3 separate regions of the Homo sapiens genome follow, and regions 1 and 2 are each linked to region 3. The links are contacts of gene promoters, found by promoter capture Hi-C in human tissues and cell types (Jung and others, 2019). All regions are on one chromosome and are shown on one strand. The core of a region is centred on a gene start or on the middle of the fragment in contact, and the rest is flanking DNA. Distances in the headings are between cores, read along the strand shown.

Region 1 (3,127 bases), core at 475-2,974, 88 kb before region 3:
GCTTCAACTCCCATGGATCAGAAACACCAAAGTCCCTACCAATATGGGGGAAATAGTATTGCTTGACATAACCTCACCTTAACCAGGAAAAAAAAAAAAAAAGAAAAAACTAGGGTACAGGAAAAGAATAAGATTTACAAAAGCAAGCTTCCAGCTCACCTGCCCTCCTTCAGGTGCAGGGTGAGGAGAAACAGAGGAAGAGGGAGAATGGCCAGGCTCAGTGGCTCACATCTGTAATCCCAGTGCTTTGAGAGACCAAGGTGGGAGGATTGCCTGAGCCCAGGGTTTCAAGACCAGCCTGGACAACATAGCGTAGACCCCATTTCTACAAAAAAAATAAAAAGGAGGGAGAGCCAGTGACTCTGGGCAGATGGTTGACTGGGAACAAAGATCAGCAAGATATTAAGACAGACCCAGGCTGTCACAGCACTGGAAGGTGATCAGTTGTTCCAGCTTTACTTTAGGGGCATTGGGACCTGCTCCACTACCCTGGGAGTCTTCTCCCTCTCACACCCAGAACTGGCTCCAGTGGGGTGTGGCCCTGATACTGCATGGAGAATGGGTGTGCCGTTTGTGTCCAGGAGTCTGGGGACAGCTCTTGCCATAGCCCAGGAAACCCCTTTGCTAAATTACATGTGTATGGAAGATATCCGTTCACACCAGTCTGGATGCGCCCAGGTCCCCAAAACGCATTCGAGGTGCCACATAGGTTAATGGTCTTGTGAGTACTTGTGAAAAGACCTTGTTACTGGTGTGGTCAAGAAGGCTTTCTGAGGGGCTGGGGGCAGGGGCTCACGCCTGTAATCCTAGTGCTTTGAGAGGCCAGAGCAGGAGAAGAGCTTGAGGCCAGAAGTTCAACACTAGCCTGGACAATATAGCAAGAGCCTGTCTCTAAAAAAAAATTTTTTTTTTTTGAGATGGAGTCTCGCTCTGTCGCCCAGGCTGGAGTGCAGTGGTACAATCAAGGCTCACTGGAACCTCCACCTCCTGGGTTCAAGTGACTCTCCTGCCTCAGCCTCCTTTGTAGCTAGGACTACAGAGGTGCGCCACCACCCCTGACTTATTTTTGTATAATTATAGAGAGGGCTTCACCATGTTGGCCAGGCTGATCTCAAACTCCTGACCTCAGGCCCACCTCAGCCTCCCAAAGCGCTGGGATTACAGGCATGAGCCACCACACCTGGCATTTTTTTTTTTTTAATTAGCCAGGCATGGTGGCTCACACTTGCAGTCCCAGCTACTCAGGAGGCTGAGGTGGGAGGATCTCTTGAACCCAGGAGTTTGAGGTTGCAATAAGCTATGATTGCAGCACCGCACTCCAGCCTGGGCCACATAGTGAGACTCTATCTCTACAAAACAAAAACTTAGCTGGGCGTGGTGGCTCATGTCTGCAATCCCAGCTACTCTGGAGGCTGAATTAAAATTAAAAATTTCCGATAAGTAAGGAAACAAACCAAAAGATCCTTAATTCACCCATCTCAAGATCACATGTGCAATGTCCGTTTTAGGGACTTCATTCACAGGTTTCAGGGATTACGATATGGACATTTTTGTCCAGATCATTATTCTGTCTACCACAGGGAGAAATGGACAAAGTGAAGAAGGGTTGAGAAGGTGCTTTGGGACACTTGTCTGGACTGTATCTCAGGGAAGCAAATAGCTCAGGAGGTTTCTGATCCTAATTCAGGGTTCTGAGAACTCAACAAGTCAAGCTTAGGGGGCTAAGGAGGGTACAGTTGCATCCTGAAATCCAGAGCCCTGTGGCATCCCAAGCCTTAGACCAAGAAGCTTTTACTTCCCAGTGTCTTGAAGAGCTGTCAAGACCACAGCCTCCTGAAGCTGTGATTAAAGGCACACGGTGCCAGCAGCACTTAGAATTCCCTGCCTCCAGTAGCTTACACTTCAGTGTCTCCACCCTCACTGGACAAAGACTGGTCAAAGGGGATCCTGGCCAGGCATGGTGACTCACACCTGTAATCCTAGCACTTTGGGAGGCCAAGGAGGGCAGATCATGAGGTCAGGAGTTCGAGGCCAGCCTGGCCAACATGGTGAAACCCTGTCTCTGCTAAAAATACAACAACAACAACAAAAAATTAGCTGGGCGTGGTGGCGGGCACCTGTAATCCTAGCTACTAGGGAGGCTGAGGCAGGAGAATTGCTTGAACCTGGGAGGCAGAGGTTGCCATGAGCCGAGATCGCGCCACTGCACTCTACCTGGGGCAACAGTGCGAGACTCCGTCTAAAAAAAAAGGAGGCGGGGGGATCCTGGAGGATGTTCCAGGCAGGGCCAATCATCTAATGTGTGTAACCACTGTTGGAGTCTTACAGGGCCCCATGCTCAGAAGGGGGTTCTGTGCTTGGGGTTTAATGCTCTGAGATTGTTATGTTGACATTCTTTTTCTTTTTCTTTTTCTTTTTTTTTTTTTTTTGAGACAGGGTTCCACTCTCCCACTCTGTTGCCCAGGCTGGAGTGCAGTGGCATGATCTTGGCTCACTGCCACCTCCGCCTCCCAAGCTCAAGCAATTCTCCCACCTCAGCACCCTAGAGTAGGTGGGACTACAGGTGCACGCCACCACACCTGGCTAATTTTTTTTTTTTTTTTTTTTTGAGACAGAGTCTCGCTCTGTTGCCCAGGCTGGAGTGCAGTGGTGCGATCTTGGCTCACTGCAAGCTCCGCCCCTCGGGTTCACGCCATTCTCCTGCCTTAGCCTCCCGAGTAGCTGGGATTACAGGCGCCCGCCACCACGCCCACCTAATTTTTTGTATTTTTAGTAGAGACGGGGTTTCACCGTGTTAGCCAGGATGGTCTCGATCTCCCGACCTCGTGATCCACCTGCCTCGGCCTCCCAAAGTGCTGGGATTACAGGCGTGAGCCAGCGCACCCAGCAATTTTTTTACTTTTTGTAGAGATAAGATTTCACCATATTGCCCAGGCTGCTCCGGAACGCCTATGCTCAAGCAATCTGCCTGCCTTGGCTTCCCAAAGTACTGGGATTACAGGCGTGAGCCACTGTGCCAACCTTGAAATTCCTAATAATTTTTGTTACCCTGAGACAGAGTCTTGCTCTGTCACCCAGGCTGGAGTGCAGTGGCATGATCTCGGCTCACTGCAACCTCTGCCTCCCG
Region 2 (2,782 bases), core at 276-2,775, 110 kb before region 3:
GGTTAGTGGCTTGGAGACTCTGGAACTCAGAGTTCCTCTGGAGGGAATGGAATCCCTATCCCCTTTCTATCTTGCACGCTAGATCCTATTCTGTGCTCTTGGCTACAACCACCTTGGCCTGGTGGATGAATTTGGCCGAATCTTCATGCAAGGAAATAACAGATACGGGCAGCTAGGAACAGGGGACAAAATGGACCGAGGGGAACCCACACAGGTGAGACTATTTCCCAGCAACTCTCATCCCAACCCCTTTCCTCCAATTCCCTAACCCCCAGATCTGTCCACTTCTCCAGATTCCACAGAATCCAATTTCTGTTCCTTTGGGAAGTTAAGCCACTCAGTATGTAATGCCAGTGGTACTACCCCATGTCTTACCCAGGGTTGGCACTACGAGGTCCATTCTGTGCAGTGCACACTGTAAATGCAATAGGAATTTAGTGAAGGGGTAGGGTGGGTGACCTGGGCAGGCTAGAGACTTCTAGAAGAGGTAAGATGTGAGCAGGGGCCAGGTGCAGAGCCTCACGCCTGTAATCCCGACACTTTGGGAGGCCGAGGTGGACAGATCACTTGAGGTCAGGAGTTCTAGACCAGCCTGGGCAACATGGTGAAACCCCGTCTCTACCAAAAATATAAAAAATTAGCTGGCTGTGGTGGCACATGCCTGCAATCCCAGCTACTCAGGAGGTTGAGGCAGGAGATTCTCTTGAACCTGGGAGGCTGAGGTTGCAGTGAGCTGAGATCGTGCCACCCTACTCCAGCCTGGGCCACAGAGCGAGACTCCGTCTCAAAGAAAAAGAAAAAAGATGTGAGCAGGGCATCGTGGGTTACATAAGACTTAGGTAGGGATAGAGAAGGCATTCTGTGTGATGAGGAGGGGGATAGGCACGAAACTTGCACATACCTGGGACAGTGACAAGACGGGTCTCACTAAAGCACAGAAGGCATCTTGGGAATCACTGAGGTATGAGGTGGTACAGGTGGGCACAAGCTTAGAGAGGTGTAGATTTGGGGAAGAGTCACTGCAGGTTCTGGAATAGGAGAAGGCAACCCCCAAGAGGTGACTGAGAATGTGTCAGGAGCCTTGTGCAGAGGAGGCCAAGGAGGGGAGCCCGCCAGGAGGCTGTTGAGTGATGACAGCACTTGAGACAAGCGCCTGGTGCTGCAGCGAGAATGGGAAGGAATGGATACAGGAGCTATTTGGGAAGAAAATGAATAGGGCCTCAAAACTGATTAGATGTAGAAGAGAGGGGTATAAGACAGAGGTGGCTCTGGAAGAAAGATATCTCACACCTGTAATCCCAGCACTTTGGGAGACCAAGGTGGGTGGATCACGTGAGCCCAGGAGCATGAGATCAGCCTGGACAACATGGTGAAACCCTGTCTCTAGAAAAAATAAAAAATTAGCCAGGTGTGGTGGTGGGTGCTTTTAGTCCCAGCTACTCGGGAGTCTGAGGCACGAGAATTGCTTGAGCCTGGGAGGCAGAGGTTGCGGTGAGCCGAGATCGTGCCACAACATTCCAGCCTGGGCAACGGAGAGAGACTCTGTCTCAAAACAAAACAAAACAAAAACCACACTCAATTGGAAACGTCTAGCTGGCAATTAGATTCTACCTGGGAACATGGTTGAACAAACAGAAGTAGAGACTGAAAAGCAACTCTGAGAAGTAGGCCCTGTGGTAGACAGGGGATGAAGAGGTGCCTCTAAGACAGGCCGTGCACCCCTCTAACACTGTCCCAGAAGCCACATGAGAAGGAAGTTCCAAATGGGGTGGGTGGTAGGGTTAATTGATGGTGTGACAATGTAAGATACATTTACTACTGACATGGAAAAGATAGTCATGCCATATTTTTAGGTGAAAAAGACTTTTATGAAATGGTTTACATAGTACCATTTATTTTTATTTTTATTTTTATTTTATTTTCAAGATAGAGTCTTGCTCTGTCTCCCAGGCTGGAGTGCAATGGCGCGATCTCGGCTCACTGCAACCTCTGCCTCCCAGGTTCAAGTGATTCTCCTGCCTCAGCCTGCCAAGATGGGATTACAGCGCCCACCACCATGCCCGGCTAATTTTTGTATTTTTAGTAGAGACGGAGTTTTACCATGTTGGCCAGGCTGGTCTCAAACTCCTGACCTCAGGTGATCTGCACACCTTGGCCTCCCAAAGTGCTGGGATTACAGGTGTGAGCCACCGCACCCAGCCTCTTTTTATTTTTATTATTACTTTTTTGAGACATGGTCTCCACTGCTTCCCAAGCTGGAGTGCAGTGACACAATCGTAGCTTGCTGCAGCTTTCAACTCCAGGGCTCAAGAGATCCTCCCGCCTCAACCTCCCAAGCAGCTAGGACTACAGGAATGCGCCACTACGCCCAGATAAGTTTTTGTTTTTTTTGTTTTTTTTGTTTTTTTTTTTTTTAGAGACAGGGTCTTGCTATGTTGCCCAAGCTTATATTGAACTCATGGCTTTAAGCAATCCTCCCACCTCAGACTCCTAAAGTGCTGGGATTACAGGTGTGAGCCACCACACCTGGCCCCATCCCATTTTTTGTTTAAAAATACACAACTTGCCCATCATGGTGGCTGACATCTGTAATCCCAACTACTCAGGAGGCTGAGACAGGAGGATTGCTTGAGGCCAGGAGTTGAAGGCTGCAGTGAGCTGTGATCACCACTGCACTCCAGCCTGGGTGACACTGAGACCCTATCTCTAAAAAATAAAAAATATACAATTTATGTGTATTTGTTTGTTTAGCCAACAGTGAAGAATATCTAGCAAGATGTTA
Region 3 (2,722 bases), core at 70-2,569:
CACCGCGCCCGGCCAACATATCGAAAATTTCAATACCAAGGATTAACTTCTAAAATACAACTTTATATGCTAGTGCATGCCCGTAGTCCAAGCTGTTCAGGTGGCTGGGGCGGGAGAATTGCTTGAGCCCAGGAGTTCAGGGCTGCAGTGAGCCGTGTTAACGCCACTGCACTCCAGCCTGGGTGACAGAGTAAGGCCCTGTCTCAAAAAAATGAAATAAACTGGCCGGGTGCGGTGGCGTGCGCCTGTAATTCCAGCTACTCAAGAGGCTGAGGCACAAGAATCGTTTGAACCCGGTAGGCAGAGGTTGTAGTGAGCTGAGATCACACCACTGCAGTCCAGCCTGGGCCACAGAGACCCTGTCTCAAAAATAAATGCATGCAAGTTTGTAGACAGAAGCTATACAGCTAGCCATTCAATAAAATGCATGTGCAATATGGTGGAGCTGTTGTGAACATCCCCATTTGAATGCTGGGCAAACAGAGTAGTTCAAGGTCCCCAGTGCAGCAGGTCCTACTCATTTCAGAAGGGAACTCTGCAGAAACTATGCCCATCTGGGCAGAGCCCCCACTCCACTGGCCTGAGAGCCACGAATCCGGCGCGCGTCCTCCCCACCTTGCCCGCCAGGGGGCGGCAAGTCCCTGATCCGGGGTCGCCTGCTGCAGAGCTGGTGGGAGATGGTTGAGGGGCGTGGGTGGGTCAGCGTTCCTTGGGGACCCGTGAAGCCTGGGCTTAGGGCTCACAGCGTGGGTCCCCAGCACAGACAGGAGGCGGACAGCTTCCCGTGAACTGCAGGGGAGTCCCGGGACGCTGTCCTCCAGCGAGGTGGGGACCGGCTATGTCCCTCAGTTCCCCCTCGGTCCTCGGGCCACAGGGACATTAGACTAGGGGGTCAGTTCTGCCAGCCCTGCCCAGGCCTCTTCTGACCAGAGGAGCTGCGACGGACGCGGAGTTCAGGCCCCTTGGCGACCGCGGTCTCCTGAACTCGGCCCCTTCCCTGCTCCCATGGGGAAGAACCCTGCCCCTAGAACAGCCTCCCCTCCAGGTGTCTTCCCTACGCTACCCCTCCGCCGGCCGGGAACTCCGCCAGGCCTAGAGACGCCGACCCGGCCCTTTCTAGCTCCTCCCCGGCTCGGACCTGGTTCCCGCCCTCGGCCGCCCGCCAGTTCCCGAGGCGTACACGTGTAGATCCCGTCACGCCCGGAAGTCTCGCGTTTCTCAAACGCCTCGCGCAGTCGCCCTTGCGCTCAGGGAAGGGGCGGGGCGAACGGAAGCCGGGAAGGCGATTCATAGCTCGCGGGGTACGGGCGCGCGTGCGCACTCCGCAGCCCGTTCAGGACCCCGGCGCGGGCAGGGCGCCCACGAGCTGGCTGGCTGCTTGCACCCACATCCTTCTTTCTCTGGGACCTGGGGTCGCGGTTACTTGGGCTGGCCGGCGAACCCTTGAGTGGCCTGGCGGGGAGCGGGCCTCGCGCGCCTGGAGGGCCCTGTGGAACGAAGAGAGTAAGCACGGGAGGGGCGGCGGAGGGGCGCGAGTTTGAGGGCGACGCGATGAATGAATCGGAACGGGGGGTGGGGAGACGCGGGATCTGGAGGTGAGTGGGAGAGGACGAGGGGCCGGAAGGAAACAGGGACATCGAGTGTGTCCCTTCTCGGGTGCACCCTTTATTTTTGTTTTTGTTTTTGTTTGAGACAGAGGCTTGCTCTGTTTCCCAAGCTAGAGTGCAGTGGCGGGCGCGATCACGGCTCACTGTAGCCTCGAACTCCCGATCTCAAGCGATCCTCCCCCCTCGGCCCGGGTAATTAAAAAAATTTTTCTTAAGACAGGGTCTTGCTATGTTGCCCAGGCTGATCTCAAACACCCGGGCTCCAGTGATCCTCCCGCCTCGACCTTCCAAAGTGCTGAGGTTACAGGCGTGAGCCACTGCCCGGCCAGGTGCACCCTTTGTACAGGAAAAGGGGTAGGAAAGGCTTCGAGGTCCCTCTGAGCCCTCTGATCGCGTCCCTTTCCCACGCCAGGGCACACAGCATGGCAGAAAACCGAGAGCCCCGCGGTGCTGTGGAGGCTGAACTGGATCCAGTGGAATACACCCTTAGGAAAAGGCTTCCCAGCCGCCTGCCCCGGAGACCCAATGACATTTATGTCAACATGAAGACGGACTTTAAGGCCCAGCTGGCCCGCTGCCAGAAGCTGCTGGACGGAGGGGCCCGGGGTCAGAACGCGTGCTCTGAGATCTACATTCACGGCTTGGGCCTGGCCATCAACCGCGCCATCAACATCGCGCTGCAGCTGCAGGCGGGCAGCTTCGGGTCCTTGCAGGTGGCTGCCAATACCTCCACCGTGGAGCTTGTTGATGAGCTGGAGCCAGAGACCGACACACGGGAGCCACTGACTCGGATCCGCAACAACTCAGCCATCCACATCCGAGTCTTCAGGGTCACACCCAAGTAATTGAAAAGACACTCCTCCACTTATCCCCTCCGTGATATGGCTCTTCGCATGCTGAGTACTGGACCTCGGACCAGAGCCATGTAAGAAAAGGCCTGTTCCCTGGAAGCCCAAAGGACTCTGCATTGAGGGTGGGGGTAATTGTCTCTTGGTGGGCCCAGTTAGTGGGCCTTCCTGAGTGTGTGTATGCGGTCTGTAACTATTGCCATATAAATAAAAAATCCTGTTGCACTAGTGTCCTGCCATCCCACTGCCACTGATTCTTTCCTGTGT

What was found. Contacts are between HindIII fragments. The study calls those that stand out against the background at their distance.
Region 1: a contact is called between a fragment that was not itself captured here and the fragment with the promoter of POP7 in region 3, in 2 of the 25 tissues and cell types used here (dorsolateral prefrontal cortex and spleen).
Region 2: a contact is called between a fragment that was not itself captured here and the fragment with the promoter of POP7 in region 3, in 3 of the 25 tissues and cell types used here (dorsolateral prefrontal cortex, lymphoblastoid cells and spleen).

Annotation. Positions count from the first base shown.
Region 1 is chr7:100,616,204-100,619,330 of GRCh38, forward strand. No RefSeq gene overlaps it. Among named protein-coding and RNA genes, the nearest start is that of MOSPD3, 5.2 kb to the left of the region's middle. The HindIII fragment of the contact is 1,590 bases long and covers 930-2,519 here.
Region 2 is chr7:100,595,493-100,598,274 of GRCh38, forward strand. It overlaps FBXO24 (F-box protein 24), which reads left to right. Exons shown (of 10, transcript NM_033506.3): 8 at 83-214. All of the region lies in intron 6 of PCOLCE-AS1 (PCOLCE antisense RNA 1), which reads right to left. Among named protein-coding and RNA genes, the nearest start is that of PCOLCE, 5.5 kb to the right of the region's middle. The HindIII fragment of the contact is 6,050 bases long and covers 1-2,782 here.
Region 3 is chr7:100,704,802-100,707,523 of GRCh38, forward strand. POP7 (POP7 ribonuclease P/MRP subunit) reads left to right here and starts at 1,320. Exons shown (of 2, transcript NM_005837.3): 1 at 1,320-1,503; 2 at 2,020-2,685. The coding sequence starts at 2,030. The coding sequence ends at 2,452. RefSeq lists an enhancer at 659-928. The HindIII fragment of the contact is 15,036 bases long and covers 1-2,722 here.